Regions from separate parts of the Homo sapiens genome. Here region 1 is linked to region 2. Evidence: promoter capture Hi-C in 16 types of primary human blood cells and fetal thymus (Javierre and others, 2016). All regions are on one chromosome and are shown on one strand. The core of a region is centred on a gene start or on the middle of the fragment in contact, and the rest is flanking DNA. Distances in the headings are between cores, read along the strand shown.

Region 1 (6,756 bases), core at 3,765-6,264, 900 kb before region 2:
ACCACCTTTGGTGTGCTTGAGGGATGGCTGGTGGCGGCCGCTCTGGTCAGTGTTCCTGTTTCTCCTTCGGGGACTGATTCTCTGAGCACTTGGACCCTTGGGGCTCGAGATCACAGTCCCTTCTGCCCGCAGGTCTGAGGAGGGCCCTGCGAGAAGGTCCTCAGGCTCGTCCCAGATACTCGGCTTCAGAGGCAAGCGGGCCCGGGACCCTGTGGAGGGCGAGGGAGATGGGTCACCTGTAGTGAGTGGATGGCCTTGGCATCTCCCTGTGCTCCCCAGGGGCACGGAGGACCCCAGTGACTGAGCCAAGTCCAGGCCCTTCCTCTGCTCAATACGGCCCCTGTGTCCTCCGTTCTGTCCTTTAAGATACAAGGGCACATGTGGCCGGTGCAGTGGCTCATGCCTGTAATCCCAGCACTTTGGGAGGCCGAGGAAGGTGGATCATGAGGTGAGGAGTTAGACACCAGCCTGACCAACATGGTGAAACCCCGTCTCTACTAAAATACAAAAATTAGCTGGGCGTGGTGGTGTGCGCCTGTAATCCCAGCTACTCAGGAGGGTGAGGCAGGAGAATCGCTTGAACCCAGGAGGCGGAGGTTGCAATGAGCCAAGATCACACCACTGCACTCCAGCCTGGGCAACAGAGCAAGACTCTGTCTCGAAAAAAAAAAAAAAAGGCACATGTTTTGGGAGCAGATCCCACAGCACTGGCCCTTGTTCCTACCTGGCTGGCCCTCTGGGTAACCCCGTGCTCCAACACTCTCAGACTGTCTGCCTTGGCTGCCGTTCAGGTGCGGAGGCTGAGGCCCTTCTCGTAGGGTGAACGATGTACATGGTGGTTCTAGGGGCCCCAGATCTCAGTCCTCACAGGAGGTGTGCATGCTTTCTGGGGGAAGTGTGGAGTTCACCACCGAAGCACCCAACTCAACCCATTAACAAAGTCTGTGGCTTTGGGTTGAAGTCCCAAACTCCATTTCCAACCCTTAATCCACACAGGAGCCAGACTCACCCAGCAAGCCAGGGGCGCGGGGCGCTTCGGCCTCCGCCCTGGTGTGCAGACTCTGCTGGAGCTGGGTAGTCTCCAGCCACTCACTTTCCTCGGGGAGTGCTGGGGCTGCTGCCACTGCATCCAGAATCAGCTCAGACGCCTAGAATGGCAAGCACAGGACTGTTCGGCAGCTGCCCCTCAGGAGCCATCCTCCCCACCACCACCGAACAACCAAGGAACGGGCGTCATCCCCAAAGGCTCTGTCCCAGGGCAGTGCGCGGTGTCGCGCCTGTTGTTCCCGTGCTTTGGGATGCTGATGCTGGAGGATTGCTTGAGGCCAGGAGTTTGGGACCAGCCTGGGCAACACAGCAAGACTCTGCTTATACAAAAAATAAATAACCACTCCTAAAGAGCTCTTAACAGGACCTGAGACAGAATTCGAGGGGCCCCTGTACAAAATGGAAATGCAAATCCCCTTGTTCAAAGATCGTTGATCATTTCAGGACAGTGACAACAGAGCATTAGATGGAGCCAGGGGACCTGTGCCACAGCTCGGGTCACTGTTACAAGCTGGGGCTCCTAACTCCCGTCCCCCAAGGCTGCACTGTCCTTGCCCACAAGCCCAGAGGAAGTGGGCGACTTCACAGACTTCACATCCCACCTGCGACCTATGACCTCTGATGCACCTAACCGTGTCCCGCCCAAAGCGGGGATCACCACTTCCTGGGAGGAGACTGAGCTGTGGTTGAAGAGCAAGAATTCGAAACAGAGGGGCTTGGCTTGGTGTCCAGGCTCCAGCCCTGCTTGTTGTGTGGCCCTGGATGAGGAGCTTTAGCTCTCTGGGTTTCCAGTGAGGATGTGGGTGCTACGTGCCCAGAGCCTGGTACCATCAAGGGCTCGGCAAACTGCAACGGAGTCGTGTCAAAGGAAAACACAGTGACACTTATCAATGCAAATCAGGTTGTTGGAGGAGGTATGTTGAGTCAAACAAAGCATCAGAAAAGACCAGGAGTCAAGCACGCACTGACAAGGTCTGTCTTGAGTGGGTCTTCGCTTTCTGCTGCCCCAACCCTACCTGGATGCACAGGGGCCTAAGGAAGCTGTCCAAGATTCCCAATAGCTGGGCAAAACTGGAGTAGAGGGATTGCTGGGCTAGAGACGGAGGAGGGAGGGAGGGAGGGAGGGAGCTGATGGCAGGAAGGGAGTTAAGGCACAAGATTCTTCCTGCTCTCACGTTGGGAGTATGTGGATGGTGTGTTTGGCTGGGTTATTGATTTTTATTTCTTATCAAATGCTAGTTTTGATTGTAAAACATGTTGAATTCTGAAATCGTAACCAGAGGAGCCACCATCTATAGGAGTAAAGGCGGGACTCCCTTTTACGCCTCTTCCTGGTACCTGGCTACTGGGGGCCATTGTGGACAGTCAGGCTCTTCCCTACTTCACCCACCTTGGCGTCTGTGACTAATCAAGGGCAGCAGAGGGGCTGCGTGGAGAGAAGAGTGGGTGGCATGTATGTGTGGAGAGAGGGGCATGCTTAGTTCCCCTGACTCTCAGGGGGCATCAGAGGAGCTATCGACACACTTGGGTCAGGCACAGAAACCAAGACATTCCCGGGGCCCTATCTGTACCTTCAAATGCAAACACATCCCCATAGCCCCGGTGAGCCACTGGCCACAGATCTGGGTTCTTATCCTTCCAGAGGTGGACCCAGGTTTATTGTTTCAGGGATGACAGGTGGGGAGATTGGAGGCGGGAGGGAGATGCATGTCACACCCTGGGAGAGTCCTGATGCAAACCAAGCAACCAAGAAAAAGAAAACAAGAATAAGGGGCCAGGCGTGGTGGCTCACGCCTGTAATCCCAGCACTTTGGGAGGCAGAAGCGGGAGGATGAAGAGGTCAGGATATCGAGACCATCTAGGCCAACATGGTGAAACCCCATCTCTACTAAAAATACAAAAATTAGCTGAGTGTGGTGGCGTGCACCTGTAGTCCCAGCTACTCGGGAGGCTGAGGCAGGAGAATCGTTTGAACCCAGGAGGCGGAGGTTGCAGTGAGCTGAGATTGCACCACTGCACTGCAGCCTGGCGACAGAGCGAGACGCCGTCTCAAACAAAACAAAATGAAACAAGAATAAAGGAGGAAATATGAATGCCTGGCAACTTACTGTTGTTGAGGAATTATCTTAATAGCTCTATTTTATTTATTTATTTAGAGACAGGGTCTCACTCTTTCGCCCAGGCTGGAGTGCAGTGGCGCAATCTTGGCTTACTGCAACCTCCACCCGCTGGGTTCAAGCGATTCTTATGCCTCAGCCTCCCGAGTAGCTGGGACTATAGGCACGTGCCACCACACCCAGCTAATTTTTGTATTTTTTGGTAGAGACGAGGCTTCACCATGCTGGCCAGCCTGGTCCTGAACTCCTGACCTCTAGTGATCCACCCACCTCGGCCTCCCAAAGTGCTGGGATTACAGGCATGAACCACCGTGTCCGGCCAGGAATTATCTTAATGGTTTTAGTTGGGGCAATGGTGCTGGGTTATTTTGGAAAAAAAAAAAAGGAAAGAGTGGAGCGACATCACCAAGATGGTGGAGTAGGAGATACCAACCTTCATTTCCCCCTCCCACTACCCACACACAAATCAACTACAGACAGATATTCACAAGCCAGAATAGCCCAGAACGCTCAAGGACCCATTGAAGATCTGCAGCAACACAGTGGAGTAAAGTGAAAAAACCCGAGAATGCCCACAAGAAAAAGCTCACCGGTGAGATAATGCATACCTGAGATGCCAGGAGATCGCTATGCACAAAGAAGAAAAGCAGGGGCCACGAGTATCAGCTACGCGGTGGGAACCACCAGGGACCCCAGCAGTGTGTTCCACAGAGGACACTGGCATCACTTACCACTGAGGTTCCAACAGTCATTCCCGCCAGGGCCTCAGGGAGATACGCCCATGGGATCTCAGGGACCTTAGAGTGCTACCCTCAAAGGGCTTCGGGCAGCTACCCTTACAGGCTTCAGGCAGCCCCTCCCCATGGGGTAATGGTGTTTCAGTCAACAATGGACCACACACACCACAGTGATCTCGTAAAATTATAATGACTCTCTTCCACCACCATTTGAAATCCAACTCCGTAGCATAAGCTGCTGCCTGACCCTGAATGTGCACCAGCACCCCCCGCCTACAACTTCTCCACCAGCAAAGACCTGAATGAGTACCACAACCAATACAGAGGAAATCGCAGAGGGATCCAAGATCTGCCGGATGATGGTACAGTGTTACAAGCAAAAAGATCTGACGATGTGTCTTGACTTAGGGAAGTTGCAGATTGCACAGTTAAAACAGTTACTGGAAGATCAAGGGGATTTGTATCTGTGCTTTTGGAAAACGCTGCTAGTGCTCTTAAGGCCTTGGAACGGAAAGAACAGGAGCTGGATGGCAAATTGATAGGATCACCCCCCACCCCTGCTGCAAAGAGCCAAAGCTTGAAAAGGGAAAGAACCCCCCGAAAGGTTTTCGTGGGTGGATTGAGCCCAGCTACTTCTGAAGAACTAACTAAAGAATATTTTGGAGGCTTTGGGGAGATTGAAAATTTTAAAGGCCAGGCACAGTGGCTCACACCTAGAATCCCACCACTTTGGGAGGCTAAGGCTGAGGCTGGAGAATTGCTTGAGAACAGGAGTTCAAGACCAGTGTAGGCAACATAGCTAAGTCCCAACTCTACAAAATTAGAAAATTACCAGGCACTGTGGCTCAAGCCTGTAATTCTAGCTGAGATGGGAGGATCACTTGAGCCTCGGTGGTCAAGGCTGCAGTGAGCTATAACTGTGCTACTGCACTCCAGTCTGGGTGACAGAGTGAGACCCCGTCTCAAAAAAAGGTAAAAAGGGCCGGCCTCGGTGGCTCACGCCATCATCCTGGCACTTTGGGAGGCCAAGGCAGGTAGATCACTTGAGGTCAGGAATTCGAGACCAGCCTGGCCAACATAATGAAACCCCATCTCTACTAAAAGTACAAAAATTAGCCAGGCATAGTGGCGTTTGTCTGTGGGGCAGGAGAATCATTTGAACCCAGGAGGTGGAGGTTGCAGTGAGCCGAGATCATGCCACGGCACTCCAGCCTGGGCAACAGAGCAAGACTCCATCTCAGAAAAAAGAAAAAGAAAGTAACATGGTCTCGCTCCATCGTCCAGCCTGGTCTCCAACTCCTGGGCTTGGCTTATCCTCCGGCCTTGGCCACCTCAAGCAGTGGGATTACAGATGAAAACTTGGCTCAAACCACATCATTTACACTTACCTACATGCCCCAGGGCAGTTAGTATACTAATTAAGAAACACAGCTTGAAACACTTGCAGGGTTAAAGCTATAAAATGTCTATACATTGATTTTTTTTGAGAATTCATAAATATTAAGGATCTAAAACAAACTTCTTTCTCAAATAATTGAAATCTGAAAGGCTTTGGAAGCCAACTGTCCCTGCACAAAGGTTTACAATTGAGAAATATCTCCTGTTCCTATTTTGTCAAGTTTCTTTAATGGCTGAACAAAAAGAAGCTTCAAGTAATGGAGAAGGCATCGTCTGAGCGCAGCTGCTTTCCTGGCTGCCTGTGCCATTCCTATGTCTTCCAAATCCTATGCTTGGAGGCCCCCGGAGGGACATTTTTACCAGGAACCAACCTGACCTTAAAAATATGAGTGTGACACAGCCGGCTGGGCAGGAGGGTGGAGGTGGCCACAGGACACTGCCTGCCCACGCCCTCGCCAGCCCGACCATGCTGCCGAGTGCAGGGAGGCCACCCCACCCAGAGGGCACAGGGTAAACCCTAAGCACTGCGGGTGTTGCCCTTGAAGCCCCAGGGGATGCCCTGTGCCTCGTCTTCGTGCCTCGGTGACCAGCCTGCTTGTTAAAGGACCCCAGGGGCCTGAGCCTGCAACACCACAAGGGGTGAGAAGGGTATGCTGCTGTGGGTGCACTGGACTCAAACCTCACATTAGAAGCTACAAAGAACCCCAAATGTGCTTCAGAGCCCCACCAACCCGAGCCAGGCTCATCCCTGACACAGTAAATCCACTGCAGCCCCCGTGGCGCGCAGCCCAAGCACCACCCAAGGGAGTCCCATGGCTAGGGCTACGTCAGAGTTGCGTGGCTTGGGTCAGAGATGGCTCTTGGGGCAGGCCGACCAGCGTGGGAAAACTCTGTGCCAATCGACTGCTTAAAGAATTGGGGGAAAATAGAAAGTTAAGAAAGAGCTCCGATACACAAGGAAAACTGCAGGTGAGAACCGGCCCTGCCAGCAGGGAGACGTCACTCTCCAGAGGCCACAGAGATGGCAGATACCTCTGTCTCCACAGTGACCCAGATCCAACTAAAAGCATGCAGGAAGACAGGTCTATTGATGCTGAAATCTAGAAAGCAAGGTCCACAGGTGAATGGAGGCATCTTCAGCCCTGAGGGGGCCAGGCTGTGTCTCCTGACGCCTCTGAGGGTGGGCGTAGCAGCCAGCTCCGTGTGGGCAGAGTCCATGTGGTCCTCATTCTCCTCCCTGGGCACAGGGCAGCACAGTCAGACACTGAGACGTGAGGCCACACACAGGGGGGCACCTTCCTGCCTTGGCCCAGCCGCCTCTGGAGCCAGGAGGCCGTGGCAGCCACACCACAGTGTGGATCCAGACAGGATTCTGTGGAGGGATTCTGGGACTCCAGACAGATTGAAGCTCCGTGGAATGATGAAAATTACAGTTTACTTGATTATGGAAGTCTCTG
Region 2 (6,040 bases), core at 1-2,500:
ATATATAAAATCACTCCACCCCTTTCCGTTCACCTGCAGGCTTGCTCTGTCTCTCAGGCTGGAATGCAGTGGCAAGATCCTTGCTCACTGCAGCCTTGACCTCTTGGGCTCAATTGATCCTCCCACCTCAGCCTTCCAAGTATCTGGGACTATAGTAGTCCGACACGGCGGCTGGGATTCAGGCTGGCTGGGTCATTTTGCTTTTTTTTTCTTTTTTTTTTTTTTGAGATGGAGTCTCCCTCTGTCGCCCAGGCTGGAGTGCAGTGGCATGATCTCAGCTCACAGCAACCTCTGTGTTTTGGGTTCAAGCAATTCTGCCTCAGCCTCTTGAGTAGCTGAGTAGCTGGGACTACAGGTGTGTACCACCATGCCCAGCTAATTTTTGTATTTTTAGTAGAGACAGGATTTCACCATGTTGACCAGGCTGGTCTTGAACTCCTGACCTCAGGTGATCTGTCTGCCTCAGTCTCCCAAAGTGTTGGGATTACAGGCTTGAGCCACCGCACACCGCCAAGGGTCATTTGCTAATACGATCTTTGGATACCTCTTCTCCTGGGAGGAGGTCTAGTCTGGTGCATCCTGTCCCATGAAGTCTGGTTTAATCTCTTGGAATTCAGTTGGACGCTCAATTTTGGAAGGTCTCCATGTCTGCAGGCAAGGGCATGTAGCCTGTGTTTAAATTCAACACCCAGACTAGGGTGGGGATGGATTGGCATGTTGATCTCATTTTGAGAGTATTAGTACAGCTGAAGAGATTTTGCCAGTTGGAGGTTGGAGCCTGAATTCTTTCTGTCGGGCGGAGAGCACTTTAAGGCATTGTTCCACCTCCGCTGGCCCTATTTCTTTTTTCTTTTCCTTTCTTTTTTTTTTTTTGAGACGTGAGATGGAGTCTCGCTCATTGCCCAGGCTGGAGTGCAGTGGCACGATCTTGGCTCACTGAAGCCTCCGTCTCCCGGGTTCAAGCGATTCTCCTGCCTCAGCCTCCCAAGTAGCTGGGATTACAGGCACGTGCCACCATGACCAGCTAATTTTTGTATTTTTAGTAGAGACGGGGTTTCCCCATGTTGGCCAGGCTGGTCTTGAACTCCTGTCCTCCCAAAGTGCTGGGATTACAGGCATGAGCCACCGTGCCCAGCCAATTTTTGTTGTTTTAATTTATTTTCATCCTCTGACATTTGGATAATGTTTTCCATGCTTTCTATTTCAAAGTTAAGGTAAAAAATTTTTACTTGCATGAACTTAAAAAAAATTCCATTGGAAACTGATTGGGCAGATTTGAAAATTAAGCTTTCACAATCACAATTTTTATGAGAGTTCATTCAGTTTTGGAGAAGTCGAGGAAAGAATTGGGAATTGAAATTTTGATGTGGCCTGATAGGATCAGGTGGGGCTTTTGATAGGAAGTGAGTGTTTTGGGTTGTTTCTTGACTGGATTATGATGCGGAATACAGCGGGTAGAGGGCCGATTAAGTTTTAGTCATTAGTGTAGCTTTTCAGTATACACGCCTTTTCATTTTCAGTCCCTTTCAGAAGAAAAGACCACAGGCATCAGAAATCAATCAACTTGCTAATTTATGCCAGATTCCACTGGAGGTAAGCTGATTTTTTTTTCTCCCTGAAAACCAAATGTCTGGGTTTTGTTTGTTTGTTTGTTTTGCATTTTTACTTAGTTTCATTTTTCTACCTCTCCTATTTGCTGGAATAAGCTAAATATTTTACATTGGTAGTTTAGATTTTTTTTTTAGTTGTCATATTGAAAAGTGATGCTCCCAGGACACTCAAAATTATTTTCGTGGCCCTCCAGTCCTTAGCATTACTGCTGGCCCACAGCTACTTCTAAAAACTTTTTATTGACAAATAATAATTGTGTTTATTTATGGGGTACAATGTGATGTTTTGATACATGTTTACATTGGGGGGATGATTAAATCAAGCTAATTAATCTATTTTTGTGGTGAAAGCATTTACAATTTACTGTTTTTTAAAATTATATATATTTTTTGTGCTAGAATTGGACTCCTCAAACTTTAATAAACATTAAAGTTGTGCCCGGCAAGTTTATTCTTTTTAAAAACATATTTACTTATTTAAAACTTTATTCCTGGCTGGTGTGGTGGCTCATGCATGTAATCCCAGGATTTGGGGAGGCTGAGGGAGGAGGATTGCTTGAGCCTAGGAGTTTGAGACCAGTTTAGGTGACATAGCAAGATCCCTTCTTTACAAAAAATAAAAAGTTAGCTGATGTGGTAGCATGCACCCATAGTCTTAACTATTCAGGAGGCCAAGGTAGGAGGATTGCTTGAGCCAGGGATTTTTAAACTGCTGTGAGCCGGGATCACATCACTGCACTCCAGCCTGGGTGACAGAATGAGACCCTGCCTCAATAAAATAAAATAAAAAATAAAAACTTTATTACTTAAACATTGAGACAGAGGTTTCACTATGTTGCACAGGCTGGTCTCAAACTCCTGGGCTTGGCTGGATGTGGTGGTTCACGCCTATAATCCCAGCACTTTGGGAGGCTGAGGCCGGCGGATCACTTGAGATCAGCAGCTCGAGACCAGCCTGAACAACATGGTAAAACCTTGTCTCTACTAAAAATGCAAAAATTAGCTGGGCATGGTGGTGCATGCCTGTAATCCCAGCTACACGGGAGGCTGAGGCAGGGGAATCCCTTGAACCCGGGAGGCAGAGGTTGCAGTGAGCCGAGACTGTGCCACTGCACTCCAGCCTGGGCGACAGAGCAAGACTTGGTCTTAAAAAAAAAAAAAAAAAAGTAACTCCTGGGCTCAACTGATCCTCCCACCTTGGCTTTCCAAAGTGCTGGGATTATAGGTGTGAGCTGCCACGCGTGGCCAAAATCTACGCTTTTGGCAAAGAATTACCAATGATCCAGCTGTCCCGCTTATGGCAAAGCTGAAGGGCTATCTGCATCCCATGTTCACTGCGGCGTTATTCGTCACGACCACAGCTGCTTCAGGATTCATGGTTTCTGCTCTCGGCCTTCCTTACTGTGCTCTAGCTGATCTGATGCTTGCCTCATTGTCTTTGCACAGGCTTGTTTTAAAGGTGCTGTTGAACTGCTGTTTAGCTTTCTCTCTCTCTCTTTTTTTTTTTTTTTGGGACGGAGTCTCGCTCTGTCGCCCAGGCTGGAGTGCGGTGGCGCGATCTCGGCTCACTGCAAGCTCCGCCTCCCGGGTTCCCGCCATTCTCCTGCCTCAGCCTCCCGAGTAGCTGGGACTACAGGCGCCCGCCACCACGCCTGGCTAATTTTGTTTTTGTATTTTTAGTAGAGACAGGGTTTCACCGTGTTGGCCAGGATGGTCTTGATCTCCTGACCTCGTGATCCGCCTGCCTCGGCCTCCCAAAGTGCTGGCATTACAGGCATGAGTCACCGCGCCCAGCCAATTTTGTATTTTTAGTAGAGACGGGGTTTCACCATGTTGGACAGGCTGGTCTCGAACTCCTGACCTCTGGTGATCTGCCTGCTTCAGCCTCCCAAAGTGCTGGGATTACAGGCGTGAGCCACCGTGCCTGGCTTGCACTTTCTTCTTTGAGACCCAGTCTCAATAAATAAACAAACACAAAAAAACCAAAACAAAAAAAAAAAAGACCTTCAGAAGGGGATCACTGAGGTACAAGTCAGGGCTTTTCTGAGTGGGTTAGGGAGAGCTTTTATCCAGGGTGTGGAGCATTCTATGCTGGATGATCCCCAACTTCCAAAGCGAATTCTGCTATTTCATGGTTCTTTTCCATTTTCCCTCAGATCTGCCTTCCCAAGACTTTACTGACTGGTGAAGAACAGGAAATGAACAATTCCCAGGTGAGCTTTTCAAAAAAATCTAAATCTCATAATGAATAAACGTATGACCCACGTTCCTCTTGCTCAGAATTAACTGTGCTAACCTTTTGGCATATTTTCCTCCTTCCTTCCATACTTCTATTAAAAGGTAACACACACTCTACTTTCTGCTTTCCTATTAAAGCTGAAACATTTCAAGTAAAGCTCAAGGCTGGGCATGGTGGCTCACACCTGTAATTCAGCAATCTAGGAGGCCAAGGCAGGCGGATCGCTTGAGTTCAGGAGTTTGAAACCAGCCTGGGCAACATGGCGAGATCCCGTCTCTACAAAAAATTAGCTGGGTGTGGTGGTGGTGGCGTACACCTGTAGTCTCAGCTACTCTGGAGGCGGAGGTGGGAGAATCGCTTGAACCTGGGAGGTTGAGGCTGCAGTGAGCCATGATTGTGCCACTGCACTCCAGCCTGGGTGACAGAGCATGACCCTGTCTCAAAAAAAAAAAAAAAAAAAGCTTGGTTACGGAAACACCAGGAGTTTGGTCTAGGTCCTGCTACTGGCTGCACAGAAAGCCAATGACTGAGACAATGGGTATTGCCAAGGAAGAAGCTTTAATCAGCTGCCGTAGGTGAAGAAATGGGAGCTCAGCCTCAAATCCATCTCCCTAACTCACTAAAACTAGGGGTTTATACAGCATGGAAGAAATATAACAATGTGTAAGAAAGCAAGACTAGGGAGGGGGCAAGGAGACATCTGTTGTGGTGAGTTTCAGTTGTGGTGAGTTTCAGTTGATTTTTTTTTTTTGAGGGAGTCTCGCTGTGTCACCCAGGCTGGAGTATAGTGGTGCAATCTCAGCTCACTGCAACCTCTGCCTCCCAGGTTCAAGCGATTCTCCTTCCTCAGCCTCCTGAGTTGCTGGGATTACAGGTGTGCGCACCACCACTCCTGGCTAATTTTTGTATTTTTTGGTAGAGACGGGGCTTCACCATGTTGGCCAGGCTGGCCTCGAAATCTTGACCTCAGGTGATCTGCCTGCCTTTGAGAGATCTGAAGGTCTTTTCCTGAGGAAGGAACTCAGACAAAACAAATACAGGTTTCAAGCTTTAACAGCGGAAGGGTCAATTTCTATGTTTATCCAAAAAACAAAAACAAAAACAAAAACAAAAAACAAAAAACCCACAACTGTCTATGGGATTACTGGGCTGGTTTCAGCTCAAGCATCTTTGTTTTGTTGTTTTTTTTTTTTTTTTTTTTTTTGAGACAGTCTCCCTCTGCCACCCAGGCTGGAGTGCAATGGCTTGATCTTGGCTCACTGCAACCTCCACCTCCCAGGTTCAAGCGATTCTCCTGCCTCAACCTCCTGAGCAGCTGGGATTACAGGCGCACGCCACCACGCCCACGCCCGGCTAATTTTTGTATTTTTAGTAGAGATGGGGTTTTACCATATTGGTCGGGCTGGTCTCGAACTCCTGACCTCAGGTGATCCACCCGCCTCAGCCTCCCAAAGTTCTGGGATTACAAGGGTGAGCCACCACGCCCAGCCTCAAGCATCTTTTGACCATTGCTCTTACAAACCTGGTCCACTGCTAAGCCCTGAGATGTAACAGTGTCATGTGTGTTTCACCCCAACCTATTTTTTAAATGATTGGTGTCTTGAATGTGTGTCCTCTCCCAACTTTGTTCGGTGTGTATTTGAAACAAATTCTGTAAATCCACACAATAAACTGAAAAATCATTAACTAGTACCAGTCGGAATCAAAGTAAATTATGGATAGCTGAAAGACCAAGGATAAGTTGTATGCAGTTAGGCAGATAGTAGTTTCTTTGCAATTGTTAAAATTAAGCCTGTTGACCAATTTCCTGTTGACAGGAAAGGCATACTAAGGCTGGGTGTGGTGGCTCACACCTGTAATCCCAGCACTTTGGGAGGCGAAGGCAGGAAGACCACTTGAGGCCAGGAGTTCAAGACCAGCCTGGACAATATAGTGAGACCCTGTCTACAAATAATAAAAAATGAGCTTAGCATGGTGGTGCATGCCTGTAGTCCCAGCTATTCTGGAGGCTGAGGTAGGAGGATTGCTTGATCCTGGGAGGTTGAGGCTGCAGTGAGCCATGATCATGCCACTGTACTCCAGCCTGGGTGGCAGAGCAAGAACCTGTGTCAAAAATTTAAAAAAAAAGGCCGGGTGCGGTGGCTCATCCCTTTAATCCCAGCTCTTCGGGAGGCCGATGCGGGCAGATCAC

Evidence for each region. The method cuts DNA at HindIII sites, captures the fragments that hold promoters and counts their contacts. A CHiCAGO score of 5 or more calls a contact.
Region 1: a fragment that was not itself captured here is called in contact with the fragment with the promoter of ZIM3 in region 2 in 1 of 17 cell types (non-activated CD4 T cells); the score reaches 6.5 in non-activated CD4 T cells.

Annotation. Positions count from the first base shown.
Region 1 is chr19:58,046,882-58,053,637 of GRCh38, reverse strand. It overlaps ZSCAN1 (zinc finger and SCAN domain containing 1), which reads right to left. Exons shown (of 6, transcript NM_182572.4): 5 at 1,010-1,148; 6 at 1-209. It also overlaps the pseudogene LETM1P2 and the pseudogene HNRNPDLP4. Among named protein-coding and RNA genes, the nearest start is that of ZNF135, 9.0 kb to the left of the region's middle. The HindIII fragment of the contact is 1,070 bases long and covers 4,480-5,549 here.
Region 2 is chr19:57,140,412-57,146,451 of GRCh38, reverse strand. ZIM3 (zinc finger imprinted 3) reads left to right here and starts at 1,250. Exons shown (of 5, transcript NM_052882.1): 1 at 1,250-1,593; 2 at 3,767-3,823. The coding sequence starts at 3,809. The HindIII fragment of the contact is 22,671 bases long and covers 1-1,289 here.